Linked DNA regions of Homo sapiens: regions 1 and 2 are each linked to region 3. Evidence: promoter capture Hi-C in 16 types of primary human blood cells and fetal thymus (Javierre and others, 2016). All regions are on one chromosome and are shown on one strand. Each heading gives the region's core, a stretch centred on a gene start or on the middle of the fragment in contact. The rest is flanking DNA. Distances are from core to core; before and after follow the strand shown. Region 1 overlaps CTIF (cap binding complex dependent translation initiation factor). Region 2 holds the start of MIR4743 (microRNA 4743). Region 3 holds the start of CFAP53 (cilia and flagella associated protein 53).

What was found. Contacts are between HindIII fragments. The CHiCAGO score rates a contact against its expected background, and 5 or more counts as called.
Region 1: a fragment that was not itself captured here is called in contact with the fragment with the promoter of CFAP53 in region 3 in 1 of 17 cell types (naive B cells); the score reaches 5.4 in naive B cells.
Region 2: a fragment that was not itself captured here is called in contact with the fragment with the promoter of CFAP53 in region 3 in 3 of 17 cell types (neutrophils, naive B cells and total B cells); the score reaches 8.8 in neutrophils.

What each region holds. Positions count from the first base shown.
Region 1 is chr18:48,780,515-48,783,214 of GRCh38, forward strand. The region is part of intron 9 of CTIF (cap binding complex dependent translation initiation factor); the gene reads left to right. Among named protein-coding and RNA genes, the nearest start is that of CTIF-AS1, 60 kb to the right of the region's middle. RefSeq lists enhancers at 30-661, 1,292-1,923 and a silencer at 482-664. The HindIII fragment of the contact is 3,104 bases long and covers 1-2,700 here.
Region 2 is chr18:48,669,193-48,671,892 of GRCh38, forward strand. CTIF (cap binding complex dependent translation initiation factor) reads left to right here. Exons shown (of 12, transcript NM_014772.3): 6 at 1,477-1,552. MIR4743 (microRNA 4743) reads left to right here and starts at 1,408; the gene lies at 1,408-1,476. The HindIII fragment of the contact is 6,169 bases long and covers 1-2,700 here.
Region 3 is chr18:50,265,164-50,267,863 of GRCh38, forward strand. CFAP53 (cilia and flagella associated protein 53) reads right to left here and starts at 1,332. Exons shown (of 8, transcript NM_145020.5): 1 at 1,173-1,332. The coding sequence starts at 1,241. It also overlaps a transcript of MBD1 not described here. RefSeq lists enhancers at 736-1,581, 928-1,057, 1,228-1,297. The HindIII fragment of the contact is 1,610 bases long and covers 48-1,657 here.

The DNA of each region.
Region 1 (2,700 bases), core at 84-2,583, 1.5 Mb before region 3:
AGGGACACTTTATCCAGCACGTGGCACACGCACCTCTGCCGCGTCGGTTCATGCGTGTCCCTCCCTGCGAGCTTGGCGGGGCACTGTGGACACTGGGTTCTCTGCCTGATAAAGGGGGATCCTTTCATGTAGCATGCATCAAGATGCATGCATGGTGTGCTGGGCTGTCTCAGCCACTCTCCCAGGCTTCCCTCCTGCCGGTCCGCACACAAGAGGCAGCGTGCTGGGGAGCCAGTGGAATAAGGGCCCCACAGGGGCAAGATGGCCAGAGGCCATTTCAGCATGACCAGCATTTATGGATCTCCTTCTGTGTACCTAGCAGGGCAGAGTGCAGGGGTAGGGCTTAAGGAGGGGGGCGTGCTGATAGCCTCAGGAGGCCCATCTGTCCCTCCCTCTCTCCCTGGACTCCTCTGTCATCCCATCCCCTCCTAGCTGGCATGATTTTTCCTGTACTCAGATCGCAAAAGACTAGCAAGCCAATATGTTTGCTGGGGGAGTCACAGAAGGCGAAGACCCCCCCATCCCTGCCTTCACGGAGCTTCTGGCTTTGTGAGCCCCCCTCTTCTTGTTGTCAGGCTCCCAAATGACCCCAAAGGGTTTGCTTGCAAAAGTTTGTCCTCTGGACTTTGTGTTTTTCCCCATCTGCTCTACCCTCCTAGTGCCTCCTGGCTCCGGCCCCAGCGCCAGCCCCTGTCTGTCCCTGCAAACACAAGTCAGCTGTGTGTGCAGACAAAGCCGTGCGCCGCAGCGGGGGCCGGGCCTGCAGAAGGGACATTTCCAGGGAACTCTGGGGGCGGCGGCTGGGAGGGCAGAGGCGACTGTCTGATTAGCAGAGACTCGGCGTCACAGTCTAGGGCAAAGAGGGTGCGGGGGATTTGGCCGGGCCCCAGGGGCCAGTGGCTGTGGGTGGTGACCAGGGGAGGCAGCCAGGCTGGAAGAAATCTGCTGTTTGAGAAGTGGAGGAAACGGGCTGGAGAGGAGAGATAACAGCCCGTTCTCTGTGTATCTGCATGCGTCTGCCGGCGAGGGTGGCTGGAGCCGGGCGGTCTGAGGCCATATCTAGCGAGATTTTTGTTCTGGGTTGTGAAAGTGACCTATGGAGCCAGCAGCAGGGTTCAGGGCCTGGGAGAGAAGACACGTGGCCCTCCCCTCTCCTCCCCTTGTCTTGTGTTAGTCTCCCCTCCTCTCCCCCTTGTCAAACAGTAGAAAAGGGAGGGGGCATGGGGGCAGGAGAGGAAGCATTCTTAGTGCGGTAAAAGGCCTGGGTTTCGGTCTGGATTGTACCACTAATTTGACATATGAACTTGGATACTTCCCCTAATATTTCTGGCTGTCTCTGTCTCATTGGCTGTAAAATGGGGATTATTTATAACTGCTCTGCATAGCACGCATGAAATAAGGACGTGAAAATAGTTTGTAAACTGTAAAGTGCCACGTAAATGTTAAAGAGTTGTACTGATTCAAACTGCTTTGAAGCAGGGGCTGGGGCTGCTGATTAAAGACCTGCCTTAGATGAACTAGGTGCTGAGTGGTGGGCAGGAGGGTGGGGTGGGTAGGATCAAGACTTAGGGACCCAGAAGTTTCCATGGAGGCAGGGGTGGGTCACGGGCCCAGCCAAGTGAGCCCTGCCAGAACCAGGACCCAGGGCAGGCGTGGAGGGTGAAGTCCAAGAGCTCTCTGGGTGGGGGTGTTTGGTCATGGGCTTGCAGATTCAAGTAGAAGGTGGCCTGGGTTGGGCATGGACTTCTCCAGGGAGACAGGGGAAGCCATATGAAGCCCCTTGCCCATCAAGCTCCAGGGCCCCTGCCTGGCCTGGAGCATAAAGTCCCACTGATTGCAGAGGGATGGGGGCAGCACTCTGTTTTCCTCTCCTGAGCCTCTGCCACCCAAGGAAGCCAGGTCCCCCTGTCCCCCCACCCGCTCCCCATCCTGACCTGGAAATCAGCCCTCTCTGATGTGGAAACTCAGGCAGGAGCTGGCAGGGGTGACAAGACTGTGAGCGGGAGAGAAGCTGAGCTATTTAAAGCGTGCAGCGCCCAGGGGACATGAATGCCACCCACCCACAAGGCCTTCTCAGCATTCGCTTTCCCCTCCTTGGCCCAGATCCCAGGCCCTCAGTGCACCCACAGGGCCACAGGTCAGGTGCCCGAGGCTCTGGGAAGCTGCAGGCGGACAGGTCCTGGGGCTGGCATGAGATGTGGTTCAGTCCAACCTCGGCTTGGGTTCCCTCCTCTGGGCCTCCGGGCTGAGTTGGCGGGGCCACACAGACTCCTTGGCTCCTGTGCCTTATAAACAGGGCTGAGTGTGAGTGTGGAGCTTAGAAGAGGAATGCCCACGCCTGTGGCCCGGGGCAGCTGCCACCACCCACCCCCACTCCACTGGCTACCAAGCCACCAGACTCAGAGAGCCCATGGGGCAGGAGTGGGAAGTGGGGAGCTTCGCCTGTAGACCCTTCTCCCCTGCCCAGGCCTGGCTTCCCAGAACACCCCAGATTACAGATGTTTTTCTCCTTCATCTCCAATTAACATTTACCTGTCCTGGGTCCTAACCTTTAGTGAATGACAGGGTGTACTGTCCCTCCCTTCCTATCTGGGAAAGGCTGATGTCTTAGCTGGGAAGAGCAACTGGGATCCAGGCCTGTTAGACACAGGGTCCCATGTAGGCCACCACAGGTCTGGACCACCTGGGAGGCCTAGCTGG
Region 2 (2,700 bases), core at 192-2,691, 1.6 Mb before region 3:
TTTTTTTTTGGTTCACAAGGCCCAAAACAGAAGAGATGCTTGGTAAATGTTTAAACAATGAACTAGTTACTCTGAAAGGTGAGATTCGTATGAACTCTGCAGCTGGAAAATGACCCAACTCATGGGACATCTCTCACCATTCCTCAGTCAATACCAGTAATAATAGTAACTGACAATACTTACTATGCACCGGCCATGCTCCAGCCTCTGTTCTAAGTGTTTGCCTCATTTATTTAAAACTCGCCACCACCCAGAGAGGGAGGAACTGTTACCATCTTCTCTTCAATAGATGAAGCAACTAGGAGACCCAGAAATTGAGTAATTTGCATGAGGCTGGGTTGGCTCCAGAATCTGTGTCCTTAATTAATCACCCTCCTGCCTCTTTGCCTAAACAACAGCAACAATATTAGTGGTAATGAAAGTAGTCATAGTAGTAGCAATATATTTACTTCATTATTTATTTTAATTTTGTTATTATTACCAGTATTTACCATTAAACATATGTGTGTATGTTTAAGATATATTTAATGGTAAATACAGATAATAATACATACACAAGAAATATACACACACACATTTATAAACAAACAAGCTAAACATTTATATATATATATATATATATATATATATATATATATATATATATATAAGCTAGACTATATATGTGTGTATATATGTACCGTTTACTGTGGGCTGTCACAGTTCTAAGCATCTAAGCACTCCAGATACATTCATTAATTTAATCCTCCAGCCACCTTAAGATGTTAGACACTATTATCCTCATTTAACAAATGAGGAAACTCATTTGATGAAATGAGTACAGAGAGGTTAAACAACTTGTACAGGGTCCCCAGTTGGTAAGGGATGCAGCGGGGATTCAAACCCTGGGAGTCTGGTTTCGGAATCTGCACCCTTAAATATGCCAAAGATTCAGACCTCTGGCCAGGGAGTTGGGGCCAGCCTCTCTGGCCCGAGGGCACGCCCACTCACAGAGGACATGAAGACAAAGCATAGACTATCTGAGTGGGCTTGCTGGACTGACCCAGAGTCAAGCCAAAAAGGAAGGAAGCCCTATTGGGTTTTCTGCTAGCCCCTGCCAGCCTATGTGACCTTGAGAAAGTTGCTTGGTGTCTCTGTCCACTGATCTTCTGTTCAGTGTAATGGGGCAAGGTGGATGGGCTTTGACAGGAGTTGTGATGAGTAAGGAGCTTAGCTTCTCTGCCTGGAAGGAGCAAGGGGAACTCTGGTTCCTCTCCCACCTCCCTCCAGGTTGGCTGTTGCATTACGGGAGGACCCCCCCCCCACACACACACAGCTTCTCTAGGGCTGTTTCCTCTAGGTGGGACAGCCCCTGCAGGGCTTGAGGGTGGGCAGCACCAGGTATCTGCTGACTGTCCCTCCTCTCCTGCTGGCCGGATGGGACAGGAGGCATGAATGAGCCATCTTTCCAATGCCTTTCTGTCTTTTCTGGTCCAGGTGTGGCAAAGGGAAGCTGGAAGATGGGGATGGCATCAACCTGAATGACATCGAGAAGGTCCTTCCAGCCTGGCAGGTAGGTGCAGGGGCAGGCTCTCTAACAGCCCACCCCCACCCCTGGAGTCCTGATCCTCTTCCTGGACAGGACCTAACCAAAGCACTCCTTCTGGCTGCTTGTTCCAGCAAGGAGTGTAACCGCCTGTATGGTAGTAATAGGCAGGGCTGGCTACCTGCCATTCTCCAGGGTGTCCCATTGTGATCGTGTGTGTGACAGCCTACTCGGTGATGCTGCAGGCCCTGCTGGCAGGCCTGATGTGCCCTAGAGATGAAATAGACCATGCCCTGGCAACTCAGTGAACTTGGAAGTTTTTGTCCCTTGGCCTGAAACCTCTCTGCAGGTGAAGTGTCCTGTGGTGTGTTCAGGTGGGACTGGCAGGCCTGGAAGAGATTCTAATGTGGCTGGGGCTGTCTTTAGGCTTTTGAACAGTGGACTTGCCCTGCTGGCCTCCAGGTGTCTGCTATGCTTGCTCTTTTTTTTATTGATTGGGCCTCTTTCCTGGAATCAGGCCAGGTTCCAGGACAAAGAGGATTCACTCAGTGAATCCAGGTCTCTAGATACTTATAGTGCTGGACTTTTGGTGGAAACAGCAGGAGTCTAGCTGCTCTCAGGAGTGTGACTGGGCCTGCTGCAGGGGTGTAAAAGCAGTGGACCTTCCACAGTGACTGAGTCTGCCGCTGCCAGTGACCATGACCTACCACCACACTCCACTGTGCCACCCTTCCCTTCTCTCCTGATTCTTCTCCTGCTATTTTATCTATATCCATTCATCTCTTCCTGGTGCCTTTGCCATTTTGTTTCTTCTCTGTTCATGCCTTGGGCCTATCAATGAGAGACAATAGAGCATACAGTTAAGACCTCATCTATTTGATTATGATGTGCCTTGGTGTGGTGGTTTTCTTCATGTTTCTCCCACTTGGGATTTATTGAGTTTCTTGGATCTGTAGGTTTATAGTTTCATCAAATTTGGAAAATTTTCAGCCACGATTCCTCCTACTTTCCCTCAACCCTGGGGTTCCAATTGTATGTATTCTATGCTTCTTCATCTTTTCCCATGGCTCACCAAAGCTCTGCCTGATTTTTTAAAGTCTTTCTTTACTCTCTGTGTTTCATTTTGGATAGCTTTTATTGCTATTTCTTCAAGTTCACTAATATTTTATTCCAGT
Region 3 (2,700 bases), core at 82-2,581:
GCACCCCTAATTTGAAAATCTGAAATCTGAAATGCTCCAAAATCTGAAGCTTTTTGAGCACCCACATGATGACATAAGTGGAAAATTTCACACCTGACCTCATGTAAGGGGTCACAGTCAAAACACAAGCAAACAACACATATTTATTCAGCATCCCCAAGGGGAAAATAAAATTACCTTCGAGGTAATGAAATATAAATAAATTCTGTGTTTAGACTTGGGTCCCCTCCCCAAGATATTGCATTATGTATATGCAAGTATTCCAAAATCCAAAAAAAAAATCTGAAATCCTAGACATCTCTGGTCCCAAGCATTTCAGATAAGGGATACTTGACTTGTATAAGCTCCTTGAAGGGAGGGCTCAGGCTTCAATAAAGAGTTAACCTTCCAGGATCATTGTATCCACCCCTGTATCTCCCACAATACTGCGCACACAGCAGGGGCTCAAGCAATAACTCTGCCTACATGTTAGTTTTCTGGTGGGTAGAAACTAATTTGTAGAAACAAAAAAATCTACATGTATGGACCAATAGTGTCTGAGGTTCTCAGCAGGAACCATCAAATTCTGCAGCAAGCACATTTTCCTGGCCTACTACCACTCCAGCCTTAGAGGCAGGCACCTGAGTTTTTCCCAGGTCTGAAGGGACACTTCTGTCCAGCAATGGTTACTGGTTGAGTTGGCACAGGAAAGGCGTTGGGTGCTATAACCACTCACAACCTAATTCCCCTTCCTCAGACGATTTTCCTAGGAGTGAAAGACCAGCTCCAAATCATAGGCCCGCCCTGCCCCCAGATCTGTCTCTGGGCCGGGTGCCCTTTCCATAACACACACTCGCCACTGCATGGGGGACAGACATCCTTCCGGTGTCTTGGAGACTGAAAAACCCTAAGATCCCTAGTGGTGATTCTCCAAAAACAGAACCTAAATATTATAACTTTGGGGGCAGATGAAAGGCTGTAAGGATGAAAACAGAGGGAGATGAGTGGGTGAGAGGTGGGGTAGATAGGTGAGCGACCTTATCTTCCTTCTTTCAAAATTCAACCCACTGCATCAGGCGACACCCGTTCCCCTCGAGAAGGCCCCGGGTGGGGGCCGAAGTGGGATAGGCCAGGCCTGGAGTGCGGAGAGATGGAGAAAGCTGTAGGGTCTGGCAGACATATCCTGTGCTTACCACGATCACCACTTTGGGGGTGGGGCCCTTAACCTCCCGCTGTACGGTGCCAAACCGCTGGCTGTACATTTTCGAGTCCCCTTCGGGACGGGGGCGGCGTCCGCCGCGTTTCCCCCAACCGTGGCGACCTGCGGGACCCGCTTCCGCGACGCAGAAGTCTGGTTGCCATGGTGCGCCTCGCGGGATTAGGGGCCGGTAGAGGTGGGCGGGTCGGGCGGAAGTCGGTCTGGTCACCATGGGGGCCGCAGACGCCTGCACTCGGGACTTCCTCTTCCAGCTGAGAAGCTGAGCCTGCGCAGTCCTCACCCCGCCCCTCGGCCAAATCCCGCCGACCTTGCTCCCTTCCTCCAGGGTTCATCAGAATGGCAGAAAAAACCTCTAGCCCAAGAAAAATCAAAGCTCTAATTACAATTCCAGTTGACTTTGCTATTTATATCTTGTAATGGTCTAAAAGTATGAAAAAGGTTAGCGAACATTTTTTGGGAAGCTTAAATTTTGCACTATCTGTAGGTTAATCTTGATGACGGTAATAATCACAGGAAAACCTTATATTTGTGTAGTTCTTTACAATTTCCAAGATATTTTCACACACACAGCCTTTTAACCTCACAGATTTTTTCTGAGACAAGGTCTCGCTCTGTCGCCCAGGGTGGAGTGCAGTGGCGTGATCATGGCTCCCTGCAGCCTCGTCCTCCTGGGCCTCAGCCTCCAGAGTATCTGGGACTACAAAGCCTGCGCCACCACGCCCTGCTAATTTAAAAACAAATTTTGAAGAGACAGGGGGTCCCGCTATGTTGCTCAGGCTGGAACTCCTGCTCCTGGGTTCAAGCGATCCTCCCCACTGCCCCTCCCGCCGGCCTCCCAAAGTGTTGGAATTACAGGGTGCGCTACCGCGCGTGGCCGCAAATATCTTACAGGGTTGATAGAATAGCAAGTAATACTATCCTTATTTTCCAGCTAAGGCAAAGCTCAGGGAGCCTAAGTGCCTTGTCAAACCAAATAACCAGTAATAATAATAATTTTTTAAAACCTGTTAATAAAATCTTCCTATTTGCCATTGGCAGAAACCAGGGCTTAGACTCAGGATATCCTAGGATGGGGGCAGATCAAATGGACTAGTGGGGCAGTGGCACGACCTGGTGGAGCATAATTAAGAGTCTGAGGGTCACAGTGGACCAGGGTCAGGATGTGGATCAGAAGTCCAGTAACTGGTTTCTGAGAATCAGGATCCAGGCAGAACAGGAAACACAAATCAGGGAACCAGGACGGACCTGCAGCACAGGTGGTAACCACAGTTGCATTTCCAGTCAAGAGCAAGGTGGTAATACCTAAAAGCCAATTAAGAATGACACTGTGATACTCCCATTCTAAAGTGGGGGTGAGCATAGAACACTTGTGAGCACATGCAACAAATCAGTACCTACGTCAAACTGACATATAATAAGTACAACTAATGTGTATGCCCTCTTAAGGACGCAATTTACTGTAAATTAGCATTCCTTAATCATTTGTAAACCACCCACTTCGG